4 separate regions of the Homo sapiens genome follow, and all the other regions are linked to region 1. Evidence: promoter capture Hi-C in 16 types of primary human blood cells and fetal thymus (Javierre and others, 2016). All regions are on one chromosome and are shown on one strand. Each heading gives the region's core, a stretch centred on a gene start or on the middle of the fragment in contact. The rest is flanking DNA. Distances are from core to core; before and after follow the strand shown. Region 1 holds the start of CLK3-AS1 (CLK3 antisense RNA 1). Region 2 holds the start of RPP25 (ribonuclease P/MRP subunit p25). Region 3 holds the start of COX5A (cytochrome c oxidase subunit 5A). Region 4 holds the start of SCAMP2 (secretory carrier membrane protein 2).

What was found. Contacts are between HindIII fragments. The CHiCAGO score rates a contact against its expected background, and 5 or more counts as called.
Region 2: a contact is called between the fragment with the promoter of RPP25 here and a fragment that was not itself captured in region 1, in 9 of 17 cell types (naive B cells, total CD8 T cells, naive CD4 T cells and 6 more). The highest score is 8.4, in naive B cells.
Region 3: the fragment with the promoter of COX5A here is called in contact with a fragment that was not itself captured in region 1 in 12 of 17 cell types (non-activated CD4 T cells, naive CD8 T cells, total CD4 T cells and 9 more); the score reaches 13.7 in non-activated CD4 T cells.
Region 4: the fragment with the promoter of SCAMP2 here is called in contact with a fragment that was not itself captured in region 1 in 13 of 17 cell types (naive CD4 T cells, naive CD8 T cells, non-activated CD4 T cells and 10 more); the score reaches 10.6 in naive CD4 T cells.

The regions. Positions count from the first base shown.
Region 1 is chr15:74,614,301-74,617,356 of GRCh38, forward strand. CLK3-AS1 (CLK3 antisense RNA 1) reads right to left here and starts at 1,492. Exons shown (of 9, transcript XR_007064715.1): 1 at 1-1,492. It overlaps CLK3 (CDC like kinase 3), which reads left to right and starts at 1,536. Exons shown (of 13, transcript NM_001130028.2): 1 at 1,536-1,598. RefSeq lists silencers at 311-630, 1,051-1,590 and enhancers at 1,679-2,290, 2,291-2,901. The HindIII fragment of the contact is 4,168 bases long and covers 1-3,056 here.
Region 2 is chr15:74,955,187-74,958,242 of GRCh38, forward strand. It overlaps RPP25 (ribonuclease P/MRP subunit p25), which reads right to left and starts at 1,586. Exons shown (of 1, transcript NM_017793.3): 1 at 1-1,586. The coding sequence starts at 1,397. The coding sequence ends at 798. RefSeq lists enhancers at 1-335, 336-1,269, 1,270-2,203 and a silencer at 1,229-1,878. The HindIII fragment of the contact is 5,452 bases long and covers 1-3,056 here.
Region 3 is chr15:74,936,409-74,939,464 of GRCh38, forward strand. It overlaps COX5A (cytochrome c oxidase subunit 5A), which reads right to left and starts at 1,665. Exons shown (of 5, transcript NM_004255.4): 1 at 1,507-1,665. The coding sequence starts at 1,606. RefSeq lists a silencer at 1,359-1,918. The HindIII fragment of the contact is 6,406 bases long and covers 1-3,056 here.
Region 4 is chr15:74,871,802-74,874,857 of GRCh38, forward strand. It overlaps SCAMP2 (secretory carrier membrane protein 2), which reads right to left and starts at 1,564. Exons shown (of 9, transcript NM_005697.5): 1 at 1,398-1,564. The coding sequence starts at 1,454. The HindIII fragment of the contact is 8,993 bases long and covers 1-3,056 here.

The DNA of each region.
Region 1 (3,056 bases), core at 257-2,756:
CCGCGCTTGGCCGATTTTTTGTTTATTTTTTGAGACAGGGTCTCCTTCTGTCGACCAGGCTGGAGTGCAGTGGTGTGATCATAGCTCACTGCAATCTCAACCTCCTGGGATCAAGCGATCCTCCTGCCTCAGTCCCCTGCAAGGAGCTGGAACTACAGGCATGCGCCACCCAGTCCGGCTAATTTTTGTAATTTTTTGGAAGGGGACCCAGTTTTGAATTAGCTTCTGTTGTTTACTTCGGATAGCCATGGTGGAGCTGGCAGAGATTTAGGGGATACTAAACACCCCTACAAATCACGCCTTGAAACCCCCCGTTTCAGGGAGAGCCGCTGGCGAAGGACTTGATGCGCAGCCGCAGCTCGGAAGCGGGGGGCTCCCCTGCGACACCTCCCCGCTTCAGGGGCGGGCCCAGACCCGCGGGGAGGGGCATGGGCGGGGCCGCGGCTGGCTGGCGGCCGCCGGGGCGGTGCTGGGGAAACCCTTGGCGCCCCCGCGGAGCGGTCCCAAGGAGGGGGCGGTGCCTGGAGGGATGGTCCGCCCCGACTGCGGGTTTCTAGCCCTCGCGTGGCGTGGGGACAATTAGGCGCCACGCCCTGTCGCTTCACTGCGCGACGCTCGCGAGGCCGGGGACGCCACTCCCAGACCGGGCGGGACGCGCACGCTCACAGTGAGGTCTCAAAAGATCCCCACCTCAGTTTTCTCATCTGGAAAGTGGGGCCTCGTAATCCTGTCCGACCCGGCGCGGGACAGTAGGTGTCAGGGATTTTGGTGACCCCACGCTCGAGGCCTCTGCAAAAGGGGGCTGTCCAGTGGCCCAGAGACGCAGCCGGCGGGGCTTTTGTCTAGCGGGGGAGTCTTAACTGAGAGGCCACGCAGGCCGGCAGGAAGCCGCTCCACAGGAGGGGGCTCAAGGAGAGGGGATCTCCTCCCTCCAGACTCCGGCCCCGCCAGAGTAGCTCTAGGGTATCTTCCCAGAAACTGCCCCGCACGCACTGGCGAGCTGGGAGCGCCACCACGGCTTTCAAAAAACCCGCACACACCAAGATAATAATGTGTCGTTCGCTCGTTTCGCGCAAGCGGAGTCGCGTCCGCCTTCCCGAGCTCCGGCACACAGACCTCAGGCCGCTCTCGCGCTCTCCGGGGCCCCGAGAACAATGCCCGTCCTCTCCGCGCGCAGGAGGGAGTTGGCGGACCACGCGGGGTCGGGGCGACGGAGCGGGCCCAGCCCCACGGCCAGGTCGGGGCCCCACCTCTCGGCTCTGAGAGCCCAGCCGGCCCGGGCCGCGCACCTGTCAGGTCGGGGGACCTACGTGCGCCGCGACACGGCGGGAGGCGGGCCGGGCCAGGCTCGTCCCCTCGGCCCTCCCGGAACTAGTCTCCTAGGCCGCGGCGCCCGCCGGAGCGGAGAGGGCTGGTGCCCCGGAGCCTTCGAGTCGGGGGCTAGAGCGGCCAGGCCTCCGAGCCGGGTCGAGCCGAGGCTGGCGACGGCTGCGTCACGCGAGGGGGCGGGGCTGCCACGGGCGGAGGTCGCAGCCGGAAGCGGAAGAGGCGCTCGGAGCGGGGAGTGGGGCCTAGCTGCAGCCGGAGCCTGGGAGACGGTAAGTGTGGGCTGGGGTCCGCGGCGGCGACAGCGGCGGCGGCGGCCGGGGGTGAGTCGGCGGGGCAGGCGCGCTGGTGCCATTCGGTCTCGGCCTACTCCCTTTCTTTCTCCTCTTCGGCCCATATCGGGCCGCGACCTCTCACCCCTGACCCGCTGCTTCTGCCCCGGAGGGCGGTCACTGCAGACCCTGACCTCGACCCCACGGTGTTGAAGGCGGAGCCTGAACGGCCTCTGGGGCCGCTCAAGGGTCCAGTTTGGGCTCTGTGCCTGCCCGCGGAATGGGGTCGGGGTCCGACGTAGAAGAGCCAGAGAAGCCCTTCAGACCCCTCCCCTACCCCTGGCTTCAGGCTTAGTCCGCAGATGACTCCTCCCTTGGCGGCCTGGAGTTTGATTCTGGCCCAGTCCGGCTTTCCCTCTGTCCCCGGGTCTCCCCTCGGCGCCACTGGTGGCGGTTACAGGGGATGGGACTCTGAGACCCCCTGGGACCTGGGGCGGCAGGAAGGGACGCGAACGAGGGCGCAGGCTCCCCTGTGTGTTTTGTTGTGGTGGTAGAGCCACTCCAGCCCGGAGGATGGGCTAGGCCAAGCTGACAGTTCAAATCCCCTGGCTGCTCCTCCGTCCCGCCCGGGAGTCTCTAGCTTTAGTTCCGGGTGTGGGTGCCCTGATGTGGAGCTGGGGTGGAAATTGCCTGAACCAGGCCCCCATCAGAGGCGGAGTTGGCGGCCTTCCAGCTTCCCTTCTTGATGCCCTTGAAAAGGAGGAGCGTTTCACCGTTGGTGGTGGAGGCTTGCGAGGTGGCAGGTTTGAGGTTGCAGTGGTAGGGCAGTCCAGCCAAAAATAACCATGGGTGCTGGGGTGGCTGGAATCCGGGAGGGCAGCCGCTGACCTGGCTGGCTGCACTTCTAGTCAGCCCAGTTCTCTGGCCAGGAACAGCAAATGAGAAGCCGACAAGGCCTGTGCTCAAAGTTGACATCCTTGGCTTGGTTTTCTTCATATCACCTTTTTCCTCATTGTGCAGAGCAGAGCTTCCCAAAGCATAATTGTGGCCTTTAGCTGCTTTTTAAACAAGCTGTTTGCTGAGGTTTTCGAGAATCAGAGATAATTGAGAAATGGGCCCTAGAGCCCTGGCTGGGAGGATGATATCTGCTATTTCCAATATTTTACTTGCCTAGAATGTGTTAAAGGAAGGATACTCTTCTCTGTTATTGCTTTGTGTGTGGTACCTTATAACTCTCATGCTTGTCATCTCTTTTGCCAGGCTGAGAGATGTTATCTCCATTTTCCAGGCATGCTAACCAAGGCCTAGAGTGACTTGTCTAAGGTCATGAGGCTGGTATGTGACAGCACTAGGATTTAGTTTAGTTTTCTGCCAGAGCTCTTGCCTCCCAGTTTCCTTGGAAGGGACTTATAAAATGTCTGTAAGGCATTTAACACAGCCCTGAAGTGTTACCTGGAA
Region 2 (3,056 bases), core at 336-2,835, 340 kb after region 1:
CCCTGAAGACTCCAAAGACTCAGGACGCAAGGCTGGAGGGGAGGGGAGACACAAGGGGCCAGGCGAGAGCTGTCTCTGCACAGGCGGGTGGTTAGAAAAAAAATGGGGGACACAGCCATTTTTGTGCTTGTTTTATTGGAAGCAAGACTCCAGCCAGCTGCAGGGCTCAGGGGAGGAGGCCTGGAGAGTTCAGTCCTGGGTCTCCCTCTGGGCCAGCAGGGGGAAAAGGGGTGTTAAAAGAGCTAGAACCCTCAGAGATGCTCCTCTGAAGCAGGGGAAAGAAAACTAGAAAGGAAAACTGTCCCAGGGCGGGGAGCGGAATAGGGCCCCCACATCTCAGACTCTCCTACCCTCAAGCAGTTAATTCTCACCCCCTGCCTTCCTCTGTCAACGGTGGGGGTGATTCCAATAACTCTTCTCAGCTTCCATACTTCAGGTGCTCTTCGTGAATGCTGGGTGGCTTTAACCCTTGGGGGTCCCAAACAAGTTTCCAGAATCCCACTGTCCACCATTCTCCCCCAAAGAAGGTCCCAGAAAAGGTGAAGTTCCGTGTCTTCACGCAACACGGGCATAAGCAGCAATTATCGCACGAAGTTTCCCTAGGGTGGTCGGGGATCCTCTCCTGCCACTCCTGGGGCCCCTCTCTTGTCGCCTTAAGGTCCATGCTACCTGTCTTGAGGAGCTGTGTCCAGGTTGTGGGCTCCGGAGGACCGAGGAGTGAAAGGCTGGAGGTACATCTGAAGGTGGAGGCGCTGGCGGAAGATCCTGCCGGACTAGGTGGCCCACAGTCCGGAGTTTCAGGCCGTCTGATCCTCGTCCGCAACCCCTGGCTCGGGTTGCGATCGCTTCGCGGAGCCTTCTCCAGCTGCGGGTTCCCCTAGGCTCCTCTTGGACGCTGGCGCGGCTGGCGGGGACGAGGGACCAGGATGGGGATTCGGGGGCTGGTAGCCGGGCTGTCGCGGATCCAGCGCGTCCTTGGAAAGTAGGATGGCGAGGCCGGGCACGTTCTTAAGTACGCTGAGACTAGCGGCCGGCTCGCCAGGCGTCTGACCCTGCGTGGGCCCAGGCGGGAGGCTCTGCCACACCTCGCGTACGCTCCGGTAGCGCAGCCGCGTGACCTGGTGCAGGCCCGCCAGGCGGCGCTTGAGGATCTCGGCGCACGTGACGGTTTTGGTGGTGGCCCGGCCGCAGCCGCTGAAGACGATGGCGCGCGTGGCTGGCTGCGCCATGCTGGCGGTGGCGAAGGCCATCAGGTTCCGGATCTTGCTGCCTTCCTTGACCCGCATGTGCACCGCGCCCGGCGCCAGGTCTGCGAAGGGGCCGGAGCCCGGGCCGCCTCCCTCGGCCCCGCACCCCGCTGGCGCCTCTTCGGAGCGCACCTTACGGAAGTTCTCCATGCGCCGTCGTCGCCGGGACCGCCGGCTTTGCCATGGGGCGGCCTCAGCCCCGGGGCTGCATGGCCGCCGGTCGCGCCTTGCAAGGGCCAGCAGGGGTAAGGGCGCCGGAGCAGCGCAGACGCCGGCGGGCGGGCTGGGACGGCGCGATCTCGGCCCCACTTCTCTCGAGCGGGCGCCGCTCTACTCAGCGCTCTCGGCGCCGGGTGCTCCGCGCCTTTAGCTGAGGCCCCGCCCCTGCCGCCAGGCCCCTCCCCTGACCCGGCCCGGCCGGGCCCGCCCGGGCCCCAGCCTCACTAGCCTTTCCTGGCGAGTCTGGGTCCTCAGCTACGCGGGCGTGGGAGCGGGCGCGCTGCGGGGCGCATGAGCAGGTGAAGGTGAAGTTCCACTATAATCGCCATCAGCGCTCTGAGAGCCAACCCTCACAAACCGGCAGTCTAAATAAAAGCTGCGCTTGCCGTGCAAACACTGCTTCAAATCCGGTATCCGAGCCCTTCCCATTTGCAACTGAAGGCCGCCCCTCGTCCCCTCCCAGGGAGAGATTTCCAAGAGGCTTGCTGGGGCCTTGCCCCTCCTCCCCCGCCCCGGGGAACACCCCCACCTTTTTTCCGCTCCCAAGTATTCTTGCCTCAAGGACAGCTAGTGCGCGGTCAGCAGAGTGCGGGAGGAGCTGGCTGCGGCTCCACTCCGCGCCTCCCCGCGGGCGATTACGTCGCGGCGTGGTCCTCGCGGGGCGCGGAAGACCCAGACTTCAGCCTCGCCACGCCTGCCCGGAGCTCGAGGCTCCCGGACCCCCGTCCACCCCTGGGACGTGAGGAGTGAGGCTTTGGGCCAGGCTGTTCCCCGAGGCGCGTGGGGAAGCGGGCGTGACCTCTTCTGAAAAGGCGGTAGGCTCGCTCCACCCAGGCCCTAGAGCCCACCCTTAGAGCTGCGCGCTTTAGGGTGAGCCAGGCACGATGCCTTGCCAACGTGGCCGCCCCCTTCCTCCCAGGCGGAATTCGCTCAGGCAACATTGGCCCCTTGAGATCCAGTGGGGTCCTTTTCGAAAGGAGGCTAGGTGAACGCAGGTTTTAAAAAAGAGAAGGGAGGGGCCGGGCGCGGTGTCTCACGCTTTTAATCCCAGCACTTTGGGAGGCAGAGGTGGGCGGATTACTTGACGTCAGGAGTTCGAGACCAGCCTGGTCAACATGGTGAAACCCCGTCTCCATTAAACGTACAAAAATCAGCTCGGCGTTGTGGCACGCTCCTGTAATCCTAGCTGCTCGGGAGGCTGAGGCAGGACAAGCGCTTGAACCCGGGAGCTGAAGGCTGCAGTGAGCCGAGATCATGCCACTGCACTCCAGCCGGGGCGACAGAGCAAAGCTCTGTCTCGAAAAATGAATAAATTAATTAATTAAATAAAATACAAAAGAGAAGGGAGGGATACCCCATTCTCCAGGATGTGATTATTATGCATTGCATGCCTGTATCAAAACGTCTCATGTACCCTCTAAATATAGACACCTATTGTATACCCACAAAAATTAAAAAGACTTAAAAAAAAATAAAAGAGAGAAAGAAGGGAGGAAGATGGGGAGTTGAAGCCCTGGGGGCATTATGGAACTACTGGATGCCTCTCCGGCGGAAACTCCACGGGACCGAAAGAGAGGCCCGGGGTCTCCT
Region 3 (3,056 bases), core at 415-2,914, 320 kb after region 1:
TTGGCTGCAGTGGCTCATGCCTATAATCCCAAACTTTGGGAGGCTGAGGTGGGAGGATCACCTGAGCCCAGGAGTTCAAGCCCAGCCTGGGCAACATAGGGACACTCCGTCTCTAATTTAAAAATAAATAAATAAACAAAAATAAAGTACCCTCCAGCCTTATGGTTCTACGACAAATGATAAAAGTCTAAAATGAATGAAGCAAAACATATTCTTTTTTTTTTTTTTTTTTTTTTGAGACGGAGTCTCGCTCTGTCGGCCAGGCTGGAGTGCAATGGCGCGATTTCGGCTCACTGCAACCTCCGCCTCTCAGGTTCAAGCGATTCTTGTGCTTCAGCCTCCCGAGTAGCTGGGATTACAGGCGCCCACCACCACACCCAGCTAAATTTTTTGTATTTTTAGTACAGACAGGGTTTCACCATGTTGGCCAGGCTGGTCTTGAACTCCTGACCTCAGGTGATCCGCCCGCCTCGGCCTACCAAAGTGCTGGGATTACAGGCATGAGCCACCGCGCCCGGCTGAGTTCTTTTTTTAATTTTTAACTTCAGCATACCCTGAAACGAGTTTCTGAGTTCTTATGTTTAAATACGCATGCATAGTTGCCAGTGATGCAGGTTCAAAAATAAAATATAATATGCATGCATAGAAGCTAAATTTCACGGACCAAGATCGAAGTGCAATTACTGTAATTATTCTATGGTGGTGGACTCAAAACCTCCCAGCACACATATAAAGGGAAGGAAAATAGACAAAAATCAGAAGCACGTCTCATACTCCAGCAATCAGGCTTCTATTACAAAGGGGAAAAAACACGAAGCGTTCCTATGCTTGTAAAACCCAGTATTCCTGTGTCTGTGACATTCAGTTTTCAAAAGAGTGATATTTTTATCATAAGCCCTATCAAAACTCTGGCTATCTTCCGGAGATCAGGAAACAACCACACACTTCCATCTATTTTAAACGTGGAAGAATTAGAACGTGGCACAGCAGACCCTAAAAATGATGGAAAAGGCTGTGAAGGTGACACACTAATCGCTAACCGAGAAATGCCTGATTGAAAAGTATAATCGTGTGTCCCATACGGAAGTATATTGTGTCCTCGGACCCCAAGCGGCGTGCCCGGAGGCTCAATGTCACCTTCGCCGAGGCGCTGCAGGCCGGCGGCGGCCACTCTCGGTCAGGTGGCCGCAGGGTCGGCGCTGGGGCAGGGTCATGGCCCGGGAACCGAAGGGGAGCGCTGCGTCCCCTCCTCGGCGCCCACAGCAGGTCCACATCTGACCTGTCCGCGGTGGCACAGCCAGGAAGTTGCGCGGGGGGAGGCCCCGGGGGCGCGCTTTCAGGTCCTCCACTACTCGAGGCGGCGGGCAGGGCGGCCCGCGGTCACCGGGTTCAGTAACCAGGGTAGGGCAAGGGCTAGGCCGGGGAGAGCCCGCCCCGGAGTGGCAGCGGGGACCCAGGTCACCGCAAGGACACGAGGGCGCGGGCAGTGGCAAGCAGGGGCCTTACCCACGGCGGGGCCGGGGGTCCGGGCGGAGTGCAGGAGGCCTCGAGGGTCGGCCCGGGTGGTTGCGGCCACAGCGCAGCGGCGGAGAGCGGCGCCCAGCATGACGGCGATGGCGGCGCGCGGGCTGAGGACAGAGAGAAGCCGGTGTAAGCTCGCGGGTTGCTCCGGAGCGGGCGGGGGCCGGACAGGCTCACAGCGGGCGGAGCACGTAGGCCCGCCCACTGCGACTCTGGCGCGTGGGCGGGAGGAGCCACCGCGCGGCCGGCGGCGGCGGGGGCTACGGCGGCGCGCTGAGGACAAACTGTTAGCCTCGCGTCCCGCCTTGTCTCTGGTCAGGTGACGTGCAGCTGCCATCCTGTAAGTAGGAATGGAGGCGAGGGAGGAGCAACCGACCGTGATCTTGTTCGAGTCAGGCCCAGGAGGGCACTTAATCACCTCAAAATAGGAATGACAGCAATAACAACAAACTATAATAAAAAATACGTACTTTGCGCCCGGGCGCTGTGGCTCATGCCTGTAATCCCAGCACTTTTGGGAGGCCGAGGCGGGCGGATCACCTGCGGTCGGGAGTTCAAGACCAGCCTGGGCAACATGGAGGAACCCCCGTCTCTACTAAAAATACAAAATTAGCCAGGCGTGGTGGCGCAACGCATGCCCGCAATCCCAGCTACTCGGGAGGCTGAGGCAGGAGAATCGCTTGAACCCAGGAGGAGGAGGTTGCGGTGAGCCGAGATGGTGCCATTGCACTCCAGCCTGGGCAACAAGAGCGAAACTCCGTCTCAAAAAAACCAAACAAAACAAAAACCTACTTTGCTTAGCCCCGCCTTCTCATTGTGGCATAAAATAAAACAGCGAATGGGGGAAAGAATGCCGCTGGACGCGGTTGCTCACGCCTGTAATCCTAGCACTTTGGGAGCCCAAGGCGGGCGGATCACCTGAGGTCGGGAGTTCGAGACCAGCCTGACCAACATGGAGAAACCCCTGTCTCTACTAAAAATGCAAAATTAGCCAGGTGTGGTGGCGCATGCCTGTAATCCCAGCTATTTGGGAGGCTGAGGCAGGAGAATTGCTGGAACCCAGGAGGCAGAGGTTGCAGTGAGTTGAGATCGCACCATTGCACTCCAGCCTGGGCAACAAGATCAAAACTCCATCTCAAAAAAAAAAAAGGCCTATGCGTAAGGGATTTTATTAGTACATATTCTTATATCACAAACCAGCTTGCATAAAAAATGAGTTAAACTACTTCATTTCACAGATTAGGAAAGAGGCTCAGAAATTAGGTTGCTGCTGGCAGTCAAGGATCTTTTCGCCACATCCCCAGTTCTGAGGACTCTCACCTGAATGTTTCCCATCTCCTACAGGAGGGCTCCTGAATCCACGATGGCTCTGAAATAGGGTTGATCAAGTTCCACAGTTGTTGCATCTTATCTCACTAGCTACATCCTAACTTTGAGCCCCTGGGCAGTCAAGGACACCTCTCCCAGGCCTGAAGTATCTGGATGCTGCCCAGAGTTAATGAGACATTGTATTCTGTCTTGCTGTCTCCCATTCT
Region 4 (3,056 bases), core at 314-2,813, 260 kb after region 1:
TGGGAGGCTAAGGTGGGTGGATCACTTCAGGCCAGGAGTTTGAGACCAGTCTGGCCAATAAGGTGAAACCCCGTCTCTACTAAAAATACAAAAATTAGCCGGGTGTGGTGGTGCACACCTGTAATCCCAGTTTCTCGGGAGGCTGAAGCACGAGAATCACTTGAACCCAGGAGGCTGAGGCTGCAGTGAGCCGAGATCGCGCTACTGCACTCCAGCCTGGGCGACAGAGCAAGAATTGTCTCAAAAAACAAAACAAAACAAAACAAAAAAAAAGGAAAAGAAAGAAAGCAGGAAGATTGTTTCTTCCTTGATTGCTGTTCAAAAGGTCAGGCCAGGCGTGGTGGCTCACACCTGTAATCCCAGCACTTTGGAAGGCCGAGGCGGATGGATCACCTGAGGTCAGGAGTTTGAGACCAGCCTGGCCAACACGGTGAAACCCCGTCTCTACTAAAAGTATGAAAATTAGCTGGGTGTGGTGGCATACGCCTGTAGTCCCAGCTACTCAGGAGGCTGAAGCAGGAGAATTGCTTGAACTCGGGAGGCAGAGGTTGCAGTGAGCGGAAATCGTGCCAATGCACTCCAGCCTGGGCGACAAAGCGAGACTCCGTCTCAAAAAAAAAAAAAAAAGTCAGGCCAGCTCACACGTCAGTGCATCTCAACTATGTTGCCACCACACACAGTTCCATCAGACAAACGTTCCCTGTGGGTCCAGAATTTTTCACAGTCCCCCGCACCTCTCCTCTCTCCCTAACCCGGGCTCTCCTATCTGGTCAAAACCCACTCCAAACTAGACCCATGGCCAAAATGTGGAATTCTTATCAAGGCCATTTTTCAACTTGGGCTACCTTCCCGCCCTCTCCCATCTTTCTTTCCCTGACAAATCTCAGGGGCTCTCCTGTACTTTATACACTAGTTTGGCTGGTGGTGGAGCGGTGGCAGGTGTCCTGGGCTTTTCCCACATTTTTCCCCTCCACCAGAGGCTTCACCACCTCCTCATATGTTGCTGTCACCCCCTCTTCTAAAGTGACTCAAGACAGGTGTCTATCCAAGAATGAGGGAATGCGATAGCCACATTTCGCTTCTCCCTGACGCTAGGAGACTTCCGGAAGGGTCCGACCGTACCTGCTCCAGTCCCCTTCCCTAGCACAGCCCAGCCTCCGGGTGCTAGAAGACCCCACTGTCTCCAACACTTCAGCGCCCCGCCTCCTCTGCAGTTCCACCTGCTGCTAGTCGCGCCCCTCACGCGTTACGATAGGCCAGACCTCAAAGCCCGCTCTCCCATTGGGCAGATGACCCGTCCCTCCTACGCCACGTCTCCCGGCTCTAGCGAGAGGCCCGGGCGGCGGCCGTGGGCCCTAGGGAAATCTGAGAGCTGGATGGCGGGAGAGGGGCTCTACCTGGAAGGGGTTTACATCCACTGGGTCCGCGAAGGGGTTGGTGTCGAAAGCCGACATGGTGATCGGGGGCCAGCGGGCGAACTCCGCGAACGCTGCTGCCTCCGGGCACCCAGACCCAGCGGCGCTTCGTGTAGACCCTCCACTTCCGGGAGCGAGGCAGCGGTTCTGGCGCAGGCGCGATGCCCTCCCCCGAGGGCGTGGCCCTATGACGGCACCGGGGTCGCTCCGCCCCCCCCCCCCCCCCCCCCGCCCAGCCCACAATAGTGCGGTGGGTGGGCATTCGGCTTCCGTCCACATCTTCGCTCTGCTGGGGATTCAGGGGTCTTGGCTGCGCGGAGCGTCTACGGAGCCAGAGGCGTGGCCGGAGTCCTTCCCAACTGCCTATCAATCTGACACCTTCCAATTTTATGTTTCTAAAGCAAACTCTCAAAAGTGGGACAGGAAACAGCCCCTTCACTTCTCTGTAGACCAAGTTTGGGAAGAAGTCCAAACTGATCCCTGGGCAAAGGACAGGGGTGACAGGTGAGGCCAGAGGCCTTGGGAGAACTAGGAAAGCGCTTCTTCTGCAGAACGTGCTCGGGGAAAGAGAAGTGCCAGGACCATCCAGCAGTCCTCCACCCGAGCTGAGCCTGCTTCTTCTAGGGCTGCTCGCCCTCTGATGTCGTTTCATCGTTTTAGGGACGAGGGTTCCTGGGCCCATCAGCTTTGGGACCTGAGTTGGGACTTGAACCTGGACATCAAACATTTATGAAGTGACTCACGGAATTCAGCAACACAGCCTCAATCATGGGGGAGGTGGCTGCTTCACTCTCCACAGCTCCGCTTTCCCCCGCCCCCGCCCCCCACAGGGTCTCACTGTCGCCCAGGCTGGAGTGCAGTGGTGCAATCATGGCTCACTGCAGCCTCGAGCTCCTGGGCTCAAGCAATCCTCCCACCTCAGCCTCCTGAGTAGCTGGGACTACAGCTGGTCACCACCATACCCAGCTAATTTATGGATTTTTTGTAGAGATGGGGATCTCACTATATTGCCCAGGCTCGTCTCAAACACCTGGGCTGAAGTGATCCTCCCGCCTTGGCTTCCTAAAATGCTAGGATTATACTCATGAACCACTGTCTGGCCAAATCCACCTTATTTATTTGGATCTGTCTGGTATTATTCATCTCTGCTGTCACCGAATCCCAGCCACTGTCATTTTTACCCTGAACTAATACAGTGCTGTTAATTGGTCTATTGTTCTTCATGTTGTAATCAAAGATATGTTTAAAGGGGGCAAAATTATCACAGAACTTTGTTAAAATTTTTCAATTAATTTCCATAAAGGGCTGGGTGCGTGGCTTATGCCTGTAATCCCAGTACTTTGGGAGGCAGAGGTAGGAGGATCACTTGAAGCCAGGAGTTCGAGACCAGCCTAGGCAACATACCAGGACCCTGGCTCTACAAAAAAAAAAAAAAAAAAAAAAAAATATATATATATATATATATATATATATATATACATATACATATCTCACACACACACGTAATTAGCTAGGCATGGTGGCCTGTGCCTGTACTCCCAGCTACTTGGGAGGCTGAGGCAGGAGGACTGTTTGAGCTCAGGAGGTCAAAGCTGCAGTGAGCCATCTTTGCACCACTACACTCCAGCTGAGTGACAGAGT